Linked DNA regions of Homo sapiens: all the other regions are linked to region 3. The links are contacts of gene promoters, found by promoter capture Hi-C in blood cells and fetal thymus (Javierre and others, 2016). All regions are on one chromosome and are shown on one strand. The core of a region is centred on a gene start or on the middle of the fragment in contact, and the rest is flanking DNA. Distances in the headings are between cores, read along the strand shown. Region 1 has its middle 190 kb from the start of SNORA87. Region 2 overlaps VTI1A (vesicle transport through interaction with t-SNAREs 1A). Region 3 holds the start of TCF7L2 (transcription factor 7 like 2). Region 4 overlaps VTI1A (vesicle transport through interaction with t-SNAREs 1A). Region 5 overlaps VTI1A (vesicle transport through interaction with t-SNAREs 1A).

What was found. The method cuts DNA at HindIII sites, captures the fragments that hold promoters and counts their contacts. A CHiCAGO score of 5 or more calls a contact.
Region 1: a fragment that was not itself captured here is called in contact with the fragment with the promoter of TCF7L2 in region 3 in 1 of 17 cell types (M2 macrophages); the score reaches 5.6 in M2 macrophages.
Region 2: a fragment that was not itself captured here is called in contact with the fragment with the promoter of TCF7L2 in region 3 in 2 of 17 cell types (endothelial precursors and M1 macrophages); the score reaches 6.0 in endothelial precursors.
Region 4: a fragment that was not itself captured here is called in contact with the fragment with the promoter of TCF7L2 in region 3 in 2 of 17 cell types (M1 macrophages and M2 macrophages); the score reaches 5.7 in M1 macrophages.
Region 5: a contact is called between a fragment that was not itself captured here and the fragment with the promoter of TCF7L2 in region 3, in 3 of 17 cell types (M2 macrophages, M1 macrophages and endothelial precursors). The highest score is 6.4, in M2 macrophages.

The regions. Positions count from the first base shown.
Region 1 is chr10:113,232,713-113,235,412 of GRCh38, forward strand. No RefSeq gene overlaps it. Among named protein-coding and RNA genes, the nearest start is that of SNORA87, 190 kb to the left of the region's middle. The HindIII fragment of the contact is 2,235 bases long and covers 247-2,481 here.
Region 2 is chr10:112,637,398-112,640,097 of GRCh38, forward strand. The region is part of intron 5 of VTI1A (vesicle transport through interaction with t-SNAREs 1A); the gene reads left to right. LOC124902503 (a long non-coding RNA gene) reads left to right here. Exons shown (of 2, transcript XR_007062292.1): 2 at 1-2,700. Among named protein-coding and RNA genes, the nearest start is that of MIR4295, 4.6 kb to the left of the region's middle. The HindIII fragment of the contact is 958 bases long and covers 865-1,822 here.
Region 3 is chr10:112,948,824-112,951,523 of GRCh38, forward strand. TCF7L2 (transcription factor 7 like 2) reads left to right here and starts at 1,424. Exons shown (of 15, transcript NM_001367943.1): 1 at 1,424-2,122; 2 at 2,384-2,450; 3 at 2,660-2,700. The coding sequence starts at 1,934. It overlaps LOC124902502 (a long non-coding RNA gene), which reads right to left. Exons shown (of 2, transcript XR_007062291.1): 2 at 1,806-2,184. The HindIII fragment of the contact is 8,187 bases long and covers 1-2,700 here.
Region 4 is chr10:112,688,666-112,691,365 of GRCh38, forward strand. The region is part of intron 7 of VTI1A (vesicle transport through interaction with t-SNAREs 1A); the gene reads left to right. Among named protein-coding and RNA genes, the nearest start is that of MIR4295, 56 kb to the left of the region's middle. The HindIII fragment of the contact is 8,382 bases long and covers 1-2,700 here.
Region 5 is chr10:112,671,296-112,673,995 of GRCh38, forward strand. All of the region lies in intron 7 of VTI1A (vesicle transport through interaction with t-SNAREs 1A), which reads left to right. Among named protein-coding and RNA genes, the nearest start is that of MIR4295, 38 kb to the left of the region's middle. The HindIII fragment of the contact is 2,345 bases long and covers 146-2,490 here.

The DNA of each region.
Region 1 (2,700 bases), core at 114-2,613, 280 kb after region 3:
ATTGTTATGTCAATTATCATTGATAATGTTCCAGAACTATACTTTCTATGTGCCCAGTTTAGTACCACTTTATATATAGCATTTAACTTAATCTTTAGTATAATCTTTACAGATGAAAAAAACGATGTTTAGAGACATCGTTTAAACTCACCCAGTGGCCCAGCTAGTAAATATAGCAAGATTCAAGCTCAAGGCTTGGATTTCAAAGACCAAGCTCTTCCCACTTCACCACACTGCTCAGTGGGAAGCTTCCTTGGTGGCCTGTAAGAGTTTTCCGCTTTAAGGCATTTGAATTCTCTAGCTGGTGCTGTTGGAGTCCCCACACATATCCCCTTGACCCTGAGTGAGGTCTCCAGCAGACAGCTCCCAGATACTCCAATGGCTCCTGACTGTACTTGGCCAGATCACAGGGCAAGCCAAAAGTGCCAGGGAATGAATGCCCCAGAAGGACCCTCTCAATCAATGATGGATAGGAATTGGTGGATAACTACTGCAGCTTCCTTGTCCCTTTAACAGACAATTCAGAAGCGACCTCCACAGTCTCTCAGGTCTGTTGTGAGACTGAGCCCAGCTGCCTGCAAATGTAGCCTGATCATTAGTCCATTAGCGCCCTCTTTATGGTTTCACTTTCTTTCTCCCTCTAGTGCTTTCTTGGCTCAACTCTCAAATAAACAACTTATACCTAGGTTCTGCTTTTGGGGAAACTCAAACTAAGAAAGGTACTGCCTTCTTCTCAATGCTCAGAACTTAGGGAGCTCCGCCATGATGCGGGTGGCCCAAGAATAAAAAATGGCTACAATTGAGTATCTTTTTCTGTTTTTGTCTTTTTTGATACAGGGTCTTGCTCTGTCACCCAGGCTGGAATGCAGTGGCACAGTCATGGCTCACTGCAGCCTCAAACTCCCGGGCTCAAGTGATTCCCCTGCCTCAACCTCCCTAGTAACTGGAACTACAGACACACACCACCATGCTCTGCTAATTTTTAAAACTTTTTTTTTTTTTTTTTTGTAAAGACAGGGTTTCTGTATGTTGCCCAGGCTGATCTCAAACTCCTGGACTCCAGTGATCCTCCTACCTTGGGCCCCAGAGTGCTAGGATTACAGGTGTGAGCCACTGCACCCAGGCCAAGTATCTTCTTTAATGAAAGAAAAATTTTCCTTCTTTCACCTTGCTCCTTCAGAGGGAAGACTGCCTGGTGTGAAGAGTTGGTATTTAGGTGGTCATATACTTTTGAAATGGTGAATGGAGTTCCCAAGGTCACATGACTTCTGCTGAAGTGGGGATTCCCTAGAGAATTTCAGCAGAGGGTGAGGCAAGGGTACCTGGCTGCCTCTGCTCCTGGTGCCAACCATATGCCGTGGACTTCACAGCCCAGGCAGGCAGGTATAGGCCTGCACCTGCTGTAGTGCTCTTGAAGGCTTGAGTGGGGAGTGGGGATGCTCAGAAGGACCCATGAGTGAACAGGACCATGTCACCTTCTGGAGCTTGCCAAGAAAGCCCTTTATGTCAACTGGGGGCTGGGGCGGGGAACAGCAGGACAAAGCAGAAAGATAACTAACAGGGAGTTGAGCGATCTGGACTGAAACACTAGCTCTACCATGATTCTTTCAGTCAACCCATGATTAGTAAGTGTCTGCTGTATGCAGGCTGGTGTGATATTTAAAACATTTAGCTGTCACTATCTGAGCACTGTGCCACACATTAACTCTTTGATTACTGGATTATGGGGAGTCCAAAAGGTCCAGAGGAGGGTATGGGTTAGCTGGGGTACCATGGAGCACTGGGAAGGTTTGGGGCAGTGGTTAATTGCCAATGGATACAGAAACATTTCAATATCTTAACAACTGTCCCAGTCATACAGCCATGTAATGACTGAAAACATACCTGGTAATATGGTTTGGCTGTGTCCCCACAAAAATTTCATCTTGAATTGTAGCTCCCACAATTCCCATGTGTCATGGGAGTGACCCGGTAGAAGGTAATTGAATCATGGGGGTGGGTCTTTCTCATGCTGTTCTTGTGACAGTGAATAAGTCTCATGAGATCTGATGGTTTTTTTTTTTTTGAGATGGAGTATCGCTCTTTTGCCCAGGCTGGAGCGCAGTGGCATGGAAATCTGATGGTTTTATAAAGATCTGATGGTTTTACATGCTCTCTGTTGCCTACACCATGTAAGATGTGCCTTTTGCCTCTTCTGCCATGACTGTGAGGCCTCCCCAGCCATGTGGAACTGTGAGTCAATTAACTCCTCTCTTTGTCTCTTTTTTTTTTTTTTAAATAAGTTACCCAGTCTTAGGTATGTGTTATTAGCAGCAAGAGAACAGACTAATATACCTGGTACCTGGAACTATGCTAGGCACTGGGAAATAATCGTGAAACCAAGCCAATTTCATCCTTGTTGCCTAGGGAAACAGACTCTGTTCACCCCTTCACACTAATAAGCATATGATTCTACACCAGATGAAAGTTCTCCAGGAAAGAAGCTTTGCTCCGAAAGCATTAAGCACAGGAGCTTCACCCGGTGCTGGGGCCAGAGAAGACTTCCTTGAAGAACACAAACCAAAATCTATAAGCGAATCGAGTGAGCAGCAGGATGAGAACTTTCCAGAGAGGGAACAGCAATCTTGAAAAAGTCTGGGGGTGGAAGGGAACATGTTGTATTTGAAGGTTGGACAGGTGGTCAGTGTGGCTTGAACAAGG
Region 2 (2,700 bases), core at 94-2,593, 310 kb before region 3:
GTGGCTCACGCCTGTAATCCCAGCACTTTGGGAGGCCAAGGTGGGCGGATCACGAGGTCAAGAGATCCTGGCTAACAGGGTGAAACCCCATCTCTACTAAACATACAAAAACTTAGCTGGGCGTGGTGGCACATGCCTGTAGTCCCAGCTACTTAGGAGGCTGAGGCAGGAGAGTCACTTGAACCCAGGAGGTGGAGGTTGCAGTGTGCCGAGATCGCGCTACTGCACTGTAGCCTGGGTGACAGGGTGAGACTCCCATCTCAAAAAAAAAACAGCTGTATAAAAGACTCTCTTTTTCTTTAGCATTTAACTCTTAAGTAAAGAAGAAATTAAAAAGTAAAGTAAAATTGTAAATAAGTAATTGCACCTTTATTTCTGTACTGTACATCCCATAAAGATAGACAATATGATTGACCTAAAAGTTCTAAATAAATAAACTTAAATCAGAATGTGTGGATTAGGGAGTAAAATGGTAGTACGAAAAAATTGTCTTGTATACAGTTGCTTTTTAGATGTGTAAAAACTGTTTACTTGACACACAATGCTTTGGAATTAATCACATATGCAAGCATGTTGTTTGTTGGGGAAACCCCTTATAGTCTCTACATATGTGAATGAAAGATGGGATTTGTTTGAATTACTCTATAGCCTTCATTGTTAAAATCAGAATTAAGTTCTTTGTTCAGTGAAGCATTCGTAGCAATCCTTGAGATTTCTGAGCAGGGCTGGTTGTTGGCAGAGAGTTCTCAGTGTATTATGCTGTTTACCTAAGGGTTTTATTCAAGAAGCTCTCTGAACAGCTGGGCTGATTATTGAAAATGCCTCATAGTAACTTCCAGCCTAGGCTGATCGATATCGGTGCAAAGCTTTACATGGGAGGGAGTTATTTAAACATTGAGAGCCCCAGGGATAAAAGAGAATGAAAAAATAATGCTGGACAAATATGCTGAAATGTTCAAAAGAAGAGAGAAGTATCTTGTCTTGGTATAGAGGGGAAATTCCTAAACAAACAAGCTAGAAAATTTGTAAGCTGATCTTATTACACCCTAAACATTTACTTATTTTAACTTATAGCAATCCCCTAAATATTTATTTATCTTATAACAACACCCTAAGTATTTGGTGGCAAGAGGAAAGATTAATTAAAAGTACCAAAGATCAATTTTATTTTTATTTATTTTGAAATGTAACCTATTACATAAAATTCCATGAGACACTTTTTAGTGATAATATTGGGAAATATTTAACTTTATTGTCAAATAGATTCAGCTCTCATAGTTTAAATGTAGCACAAATGTATTTCACCCAAATGTAAGCAGAAAATTCCTATTTCTTTAATTTTTTTTTTTTTTTTTAACTACAGAGATCTAGAATACAGATATTACCATTTCCTTCTGGCTTAGTCCTAGCAAAACAGGTTGGGCTTTTTTTTTTTTTCATTTCTGTTTTTAAACAATTTAATAAAATAAATAAAAACTGTACTAGAAATAGGAGATTTTATTTCCTAAAGGCATTTGGTGGAATTATGACATTGAAGCAAAAGTATCAGCATTTAAAAGCCTGTTTCTTTCTACAAAATGGGAGAACAGAGAAATACTCCAAAAAGGGAGGGAAAAACACTCAATTTATCAAAGTGGAAGCCTGTATCAAGAAATCCTACATCTTGTTACATCCAGGATTTCTTACTTTTGCTCTGCTCATGAGCAACAGACAGAAAGTTCAGAAACACAAAGGCAATCAATATGAAAACTGTGAAAGTCTCTTAATTAATCAACTCACACAAACTCTCCAAGTAAGAGGATTTTACAAACATTTCAATTAAAGCTTTCTCTTTTTATTACTAAATTTCATTGACAATTAAAAATGCATAATGAGAGTCGACATGATTATAAAAAGCAAAATATCATTTAAATACTGAGCTTTTAGACGTATAGGAGACTGACTTTCTGATGCTTATTCTTTTGATGAATCACATAGACAATTACTAATTGGATAGTTATTCTATAACAGTGACATTTTGGAATTTTCAAAACAGGTAGCTCTTTGAACATGTTTGTATTTCTCTCCTCATGTTAACATCATCATTTTGGCATACTCAGACCTAGAAGCTTCATGACTGACTCACTAATGAAATTCAGCAATCATACATATGCAAAGAACTACCTAATTCATTGAAATATTTAAGAACTGACATGGGGTGACTAGATGTTTTAACATTTAAGAGCTCTAGAACAGGCTGAAAACACTAACATCCAAGTGTTTACCTATGAATTGATATTGGAATACAAGAAACTAACTTACATTGAAAAGGTATATACAGAATATGGAAATTTTTATAAAAAACAAAAGCCAGCTTAGTCTAATAGTTTGTTTTTGCTTTTAAAAGAAAAGTTTGTTTGAAATCTTCATTGACTCTCAGCTGCTGGTTCCAGAAACTACACATATTCCCAATATGGCTTATGCCAGTTTTCTGCTTTGAAGACTAAAAAATAGACCAGAAGACAAAATATGATTTCATGATTCTGTGCCTCCCTTGTGACAGTAGAAAAGTAATTTAACTCCTTTGTGCAGCTTTTCTTCACCAGTAAATTAGGAATAATCATGTCTTCCACCTTCTGTTGGGGACTTTGAAGAGTAATGATTCAAGGGCCATTTGGAGTTAAAATAGAAATATGAAATTATTTTTCTTTACCCAAAGAC
Region 3 (2,700 bases), core at 174-2,673:
GAAGGGTGGGACAACAGTACATCCTGGACTCTAGACTAATACTACTCCTAAGAGGCAATTTGCTAAATCCTACTGATTTATTTTTTTCTTTTTTCTCTTTTTCATGTTGTAGTGTCCAGTCTACTTCTTACTGGGTATTTGCAAAAATGAATTTTCTTGCTCTATCACCCAGGAACATTGTGTTTTGGGAGCTGGGTCTTTCCTCTTTAACATAATTCCATTCCCCATTTTGTAGCAAATCAGTCTGCTCCTCCTCTAATACCTAAAAGTCAACAAATACCTGCCTCAAGCCCCAGGTTTCCCATCTTCTCCCGAAGGTCTTCTAGCATCGGTTTGGTTAGCAATTTCCTGCCAGAGCCACCTACATCTTGATTATTTTGGTCAGTCTTTCGGGGATTTCATTTCAGACCCCCTTCGAGAAACACTGTAGCCCAACTGATCCCAGGGGTTGGTGAACTTTCAGTTTTATTTTCCCTGACGGTGTTAACGCCCAAACTTTTCACCTCCTAAGTCAAAAAGGACTTTGACTCTAGCTCATTTCCTACTACCTCCAACGTCAGTTAAAAAAAAAAAAAAAAAAGCAAAACACCACTCTACATTTAAAAGAATCATATATTTTTCCTTAAGGATACTTTTAATGTTTCTGACATTTAGCATTTGTTTTTTGCATAAAAAGTCGTTTTGGCATATCCATCCTAGTGGGACTTAACATTTCATGAAATGATTCACTACTAATAAACAAAAAAGGGAGGAGGGAGGCCTCATGGGTTAATAGTTTCTTTCATTGTAGATGACCAGGAACTTTGACCAGCCCCTTCACTTCCCCAAGCTCTCTGAAAGTGGAGGGTTGATCTTTCCTTTTGACCACTTTTGTCGCATCCCGTCTAAGGGTGGCTGATTTCACTGCTGAATTAACCACCAAGCACCCCCCCACCCCCTCCCCCAGCCACCACTTTCTCAAATACTACCCTTCCTTTTCCCCCTCCCTTAAGACTTATTTCTAATATTTCTAAAGTGCACTGTTTTGGGCCTCTCCCCATCCCCGCCCCCCAAGTGGGCTTTCCTTCCGCCTTCCTCGGCTCGGATTCCTGACTTGGTCGCCACCCCCTTCTCCTCCTCTCCCACCCCGCATTGTCTTTCTGAAACCGCCCCCTCCCGGAGCAAGTCCCTGCACCCTCGCCCAGAATCCCGGGCTCGCACACACTCCGCGCAGGCCGCTCCCCCTGCACACTCCTCCCTCCGTCTCCCCCCGGCTTCCCCGCCCCTCTCTTCCTCCTTCTTTCCCTCCTCCCTCTCCCGGCGCCCGAAAGGATCATTGTTAGCCGCCCCCGCCCCGCCCACCCCGGCTGTTTATTTATGCACACGTCACTGGGCCGGCCCCGCCCTCCGGCATCTCATTAAGGCAGTGTGTTCCTCTCGCCCTGTCAATAATCTCCGCTCCCAGACTACTCCGTTCCTCCGGATTTCGATCCCCCTTTTTCTATCTGTCAATCAGCGCCGCCTTTGAACTGAAAAGCTCTCAGTCTAACTTCAACTCACTCAAATCCGAGCGGCACGAGCACCTCCTGTATCTTCGGCTTCCCCCCCCCTTTGCTCTTTATATCTGACTTCTTGTTGTTGTTGGTGTTTTTTTTTTTTTTACCCCCCTTTTTTATTTATTATTTTTTTGCACATTGATCGGATCCTTGGGAACGAGAGAAAAAAGAAACCCAAACTCACGCGTGCAGAAGATCTCCCCCCCCTTCCCCTCCCCTCCTCCCTCTTTTCCCCTCCCCAGGAGAAAAAGACCCCCAAGCAGAAAAAAGTTCACCTTGGACTCGTCTTTTTCTTGCAATATTTTTTGGGGGGGCAAAACTTTTTGGGGGTGATTTTTTTTGGCTTTTCTTCCTCCTTCATTTTTCTTCCAAAATTGCTGCTGGTGGGTGAAAAAAAAATGCCGCAGCTGAACGGCGGTGGAGGGGATGACCTAGGCGCCAACGACGAACTGATTTCCTTCAAAGACGAGGGCGAACAGGAGGAGAAGAGCTCCGAAAACTCCTCGGCAGAGAGGGATTTAGCTGATGTCAAATCGTCTCTAGTCAATGAATCAGAAACGAATCAAAACAGCTCCTCCGATTCCGAGGTAGGAAAAGCCCCTCGGGCTGGTGGGGTTTTTTATCTGTTTCCTGGGCTTGGCAAATGTTGCTGAAAGGGGAGAAATCGGGGCTGGGGGCGGCGGCGGGGCCCGGCGGGCGGCGTGTGCGTACGGTGCCACCATTGCAAAAACTTGTAACCCTGTTTTTTTCTACCCCCCCCTCGACCTCGCCGATTCTTTTTCTCCCCCTTCTCCCCCTTCTGCGTGGCGTTTGCCCCTCGCCCTCCCCACCTCCACCCCTCTGGGAAGGCGGAAAGACGGCCTCCGCCTCGCTCCGAAAGTTTCCGAGACAAATCCCGGGAAAGTTTGGAAGAAGGTGAGTACGCCCCGCGCGCCCCGCAGCCGCCCGGAGCCGCCCCCCGGGCCGGCCGCCCCGCGCGCCCCGGCCCCGCGCCCGGCTCGGCCTGGCCCTGCGCCGGCCCGGTCGGGGCGCCCGGCCCCTCGGGGCACTTTCTAAAAAGTTTCTCCTCACTCTCTCCCGCTCCGCGCGGCCGCCGCTGTCCCCTCGCCGCCCCGCCATGTTAGCGGCCAAGAGGCAAGATGGAGGGCTCTTTAAGGGGCCACCG
Region 4 (2,700 bases), core at 198-2,697, 260 kb before region 3:
CACATACCACCACACCCAGCTTATTTTTTGTTTGTTTGTTTGTTTGTATTTTTAGTAGAGACGGGGTTTCATCATGTTGGCTAGGCTGGTCTCAAACTCCTGAGCTCAGGTGATCCACCCACCTCAGCCTCCCAAAGTGCAGGAATTACAGGCATCAGCCACTGTGCCTGGCCTACTAATGCCAATTTTTCATAGTTATTATAGTTATTGTCAGTAGTGGGTTTTTTAAAAATCAAGTTATTATGACATATATGGAGGCTCAGGAAAGCCCAGCAGTGTGTGGTTGACATTAATTTGGTTTCAGAAAATAAAAGGGCTGCCTCTAGCATGTCCTTAGAGCTCCTCAGCCTGGTATTTAAGAGCACTCTCAGTTTTGACAACTGGGTACTGAGAATTATTTGTACCTTTCTATAGTGACCATCCAAACCACTTGCATGTATTAATTTTAACGTGTTTGATGATAATATTGATGACAAAAATGTATGTATAAGCAGAGCAGGCAAGTCACTCTGGTAGGGAAAAGTGCAGTGAATTCCAGAAATAGCCCCACTTTTCCCAAGGTATTCCCTACCTGACTGGAAGGTAATACTGAACTTGGGTTAAGGCTCCATGCATTGTCTTCATCAGATGTCAGTGCTTGGAAATGTCATCAGTAACAGTCATGTGCACCTACCTGGTCATGTGTTAACCAAGTGTAATGTGTCTCCACCTTGCACAAAGCACTGAGGGGCAGCCTCTGCATTCTGGAGGTCAGGAGGAGGGCCTGAGGGAAGGGTGGTTTTGGAGCTGACTCCAGGAGACATGGGTGGGGTGCCCTGGTAGGAGGTGCTGGACAGCCAGGGGGCAGCATGGGAGCATTTTGTATGTGATGAAGGAGGACAGAGAATTGGAAGAGGGGGATAAACGAAAACGTCACCGTTCTTCCTGAGCCCAGCCCTGGGGAGGATGATGGATGACTTTTTGTCATCTTTTGTATTTCCTCGGGGCAGCTAAAGCAGAATCTCTCCACTGAGACCAGAGGTTGAAAACTGGAAGTCTGTGGGCCACAAGTGGCCTACAGATTTTTTTACTTTTGCTCTGCACAGTTTTTTTTTTAATTATTATTTACATACAACAAAATTCACCCATTTTAACTGTAGAGTTGGATGTTTGTTGGTATGCATATGCAGCTGTGTTGCCTTGCTCCACCACCACACATCAAGATATAGAACAGTTCCCTCACTCCAGAAGTTTCCTCCTACCCCTTTGCATTCAAATCTCTTTCCCCACCCTGCCACAGAGAGCCACTGATCTGCTTCCTGACATTAGAGTTTTGCCTTTTCTAAAATTTCATGTAAATGGAATTATACAGTGTGTCATCTTTTGTATATGACTTCTTTCATTTGCATAGAGCTTTTGAAATTAATCCATGTAGTTGCATATGTCAGTATTTCATTCCTTTTAATTGCTGAGTAATATTCCAGAGTGGGGGTATACTACAATTTATCTATTCACCAGTAGATGAATGTGTAAGTTGCTTCCAGTTTGGGGCTATTTTAAATAACGCTGCTGTGAATATTTGTGTATATATCTTTTTGCAGACATAGGTTTTCGTTTCTCTTGGTAAATACTTAGGAGTAGGATTGATGGGTCATATGGTAAGTATATGTTTAATTTTATAAGAACCTATCCGATTGTTCCCAAAGACACTGAACCATTTTGCAGTCCCATAAACATGGATGAGAGTTCCGGTTGCTCTCCATCATTGCTCTTAAAGCATCCAAACACTCAGAACCCATTAAAGGGCCACATGGCCTCCAGCTCACCCCAGTTCCTATTTGACCTATTTTCCTCATTTACATTACCCACCTGTAACCTGTAGGTTTGTGACCTGTGCCATTGAGCAACTTTATGCTCCATAGCATATAGCAGGGTGTGACAGTTAAGAGCAGGGTCTATGGAGATTCTCGGTTGGAATCTCCATCTTGCCATTTATAAGCTGTCACTTTGGACTTCTCTCTGAATTCGCTTCTTCATCGGTAAAATGCTAAAAACACCTTATTTATTAGCTGGCTAGTTGTAAAAATGAAAAATATAGAGCATGTGAAGCATCCATCACAGGACTGGGCCTGTAGAAAATGTACAATAGATGGTACCTGTTAGTATCCATGCAATAGCCCCATGATTGTCTATTATATGTGTGTGCATCAGAGTCACCTGCACAGATTCTTTTTAAAACATAGGTCCTGCCCTAGCCATAGGTGCCCCTGCCCCAGCCCTCCTTCAGAATGAGAACTTCCCAGGCTGGGCCTGTGCATATGCATTGTTTTAAAGTCCCATAGTTCGATCAAAGTGGTTCACACCTGTAATTCCAGCATTTTGGGAGGCCAAGGCAGGCGGATCATTTGAGGCCAGGAATTCAAGAACAGGCTGGCGAAACCCCGTCTCTACTAAAAATACAAAAAAATTAGCCAGGCATGGTGGTGTGTGCCTGTGCTCCCAGCTGCTTGGGAGGCTGAGGTGAGAGAGTCTCTTGAACACAGGAGGTGTAGGTTGCAGTGAGCCAAGACCATGCCACTGCACTCCAGCCTGGGCAACAGAATGAGACTCTGCCTCAAAAATAAATAAATAAATAAATAAATAAATAAATAAATAAATAAATGAAAGTTCCACAGATAATTGGTATGAGCATCCTTGGCCTACAACTGTTGGATGGGAAGA
Region 5 (2,700 bases), core at 68-2,567, 280 kb before region 3:
ATAGCTATATCGTGTGTCAACAAGCGTTTCTGATTTAGGAAATGTTATGTTATTGAATCTTGTACTCATCTGTCACCTTCACAAATCTATAAAAGAAATGAATGTCCTCTTTGTGAAGTGTGAGCATTTACCTGCATATAACATAAGCTTATTTTCATATGATAAATTCTGTGTGACTGAAAATAGTTAAATATTCTGTAGTATACCAAACCAAGGAGTTGCTTTATTTAAAAGAAAGATTGCAGGTTATTTTTAAAATTTTTTAAACCTTGATTGTTCTTAAATTTGTAAAGTGAACAGAAATGGCTTGGCACGGCTCATCATTTGAGCCATTTTACGTATGGTCTGTTGTGAAGACAGGTGAAACCAGTGTTCCATTGATACCAAGATCTGTGCGTATGGCCACTTGATTATCTGTAAAACTGACCAAAAGGAATTGGAGAAATCAAAATAAGTAAGCAACAAAAATTAAGTTTATAAAATCCAGCAGCCACTAAATAATCATCTACCACTCATGCTTTTTAATATTTTATTAACTTCAAATAAGATAAACATCTATTTCCTTCCTTCTTTCCTTTCTTCTCTTCTTTCTTCTGCTTATTCATTTCCTTAGTAAATATTTAATGTCTGTATGCCAGGGCCGGGGATCCTGAAATGAAACCAATTTTATCCTCACTTTCAGAGTACTTTAGTGTAGTAGAGGACGTATGCATAAAAATGTACTATGGAAATTCACAAAATTAACGGATTCTCAAAGCAGCTATTGAAGATTCCACAACTCCAGTTAGTCCTTGCTGGTCATTAAAAGGGACACCAGAAAAACAAATAACTAATAAAAAATACGAGTTAAATGGCTATAATGCCCACCTGTTTGGAAAAAAAAATAGGGAAATAGAAAATGGTATATGGAATCATTACAAACAAATTTTGAAAAGAACTAAGGTGTGCAAAAACATTGACATATAATATGTAATTTAGTGAGACAGCAACTGCTTCAACCGAAAAGAAATTGCTCTTCATGTAAGCATGCCATGTTACCAAAAGAAAGAAAACAAAGGAGAAAATTGGTTCATTCAAAATTATAATAGTAAAACTCGACATCAGAACACAGCTCTGGCTGATTTCCTGGAAAGTAATTTTTCTTCGATCCTGACATGTGATGGAGAGCCATCCAGGGACAAACTGTTCATTTCCTAACTCTGTAGACAGAGTTTAAATACAGTGGAATTCAGATAATAATGAAAATGGTCATGAAACAAGTGACCATTTATGTTGTAACTGGGTCCAATAAATGGGTCTTTTCATTGACTTTCACAAAATTTGATTATTATAATTGGCTGTCTTAAAGTGTCACAGTATCACTAGGAGACTTAAATGTCTCTCTTCATATGTGTGTATTTATGTGTGTGTCTGTGTGTGTATTTTTTCTATACCTTTGAGCAGAAAGTCTTATTCGTTCAAACTGTCGGCAATCTGTAAAAATGAAAATTAAGATTTTCAAAATTCAGTCAGAATAAAAAGAAATCATGATTCTATTTCCTTTTACCTCTGAAGAGTTAATGATTGATCACTAATTGTACATTTGTTTCTAAAAGTATATGAACAATGCCTCAGGAATGTAACAAAGTTATAGCTTAAGAGCTCCACTGACAAAAATTTACAGGATATGTTACTACTTTACCTTGGCTCCTCCGCTGCATTGTATATGCTGGCAAAGTGCTTATAAAAAAAATGGCATAAGCCAGGTGTGGTGGCTCACACCCGTAATCCCAACACTTTGGGAGACCGAGGCAGGCAGATCACTTGATGCCAGGAGTTCGAAACCAGCCTGGCCAACATGGTGAAACCTCACCTCTACTAAAAAATACAAAAAAAATTCGCCAGGTGCAGTAGCTAATAATCCCAGCTACTTGGGAAGCTGAGGCATGAAAATCACTTCAGCCTGGGAGGCGAAAGGTTGCAGCGAGCCGAGGTCACATCACTGCACTCCAGCCTGGGTGACAGAGTGAGACTCCATCTCAAAAAAAAAAAAAAAAGAAAAAGGAAAAGAAAAGAAGGAATGGCATAGATGATTAACACCCATTCTGTTTGACAATCTCAAATCAAATAATTTCCTCTCTCCCCGACACTACCTATATTTGCCCCCATTCACACACATGCGCGCGTGCGCGCGCACACACACACACACGCACTCAGATTGTTTCCTTCAGAAAGTGAATTTTGTTTATCCTTCCAGTATGAGTATGGTTAACTTCCTTATGCGTGGAGCTGCTAAGAGGTCTTTTGTAACTAATCTGTAGTATAAACAAAGCAGACAGTATTAAATGCAGTTGACCTAGCCAGGACCATTCACACAATATTATCTGATATGCATATTTTTGTTAGAGTTACTTTCGAGTTAGCCTGGGGAATCATTGCCACCTATCATTGCTATCATATTTTACATTTTAAATGTAGTCTTTGGTAGAATGACAGGTAAAACATCTGGAAAGCTTAAATGCACTGTCAGAATGATTCCTAAGAGTAAATAGACCAGGAATGCCAATGCAAGATCTGTAAGCTATAGAAATGTAATTTTTAAAATAAAAACAGGTTTATTCTTACATATGCCATGGCTAGATGTTTAAGCTTTTTTTAAAAACTCATTCTTTTTTCTCCTTCATTTTGCCCAGGAAACATTCTGTTATATTCTAATTGTTC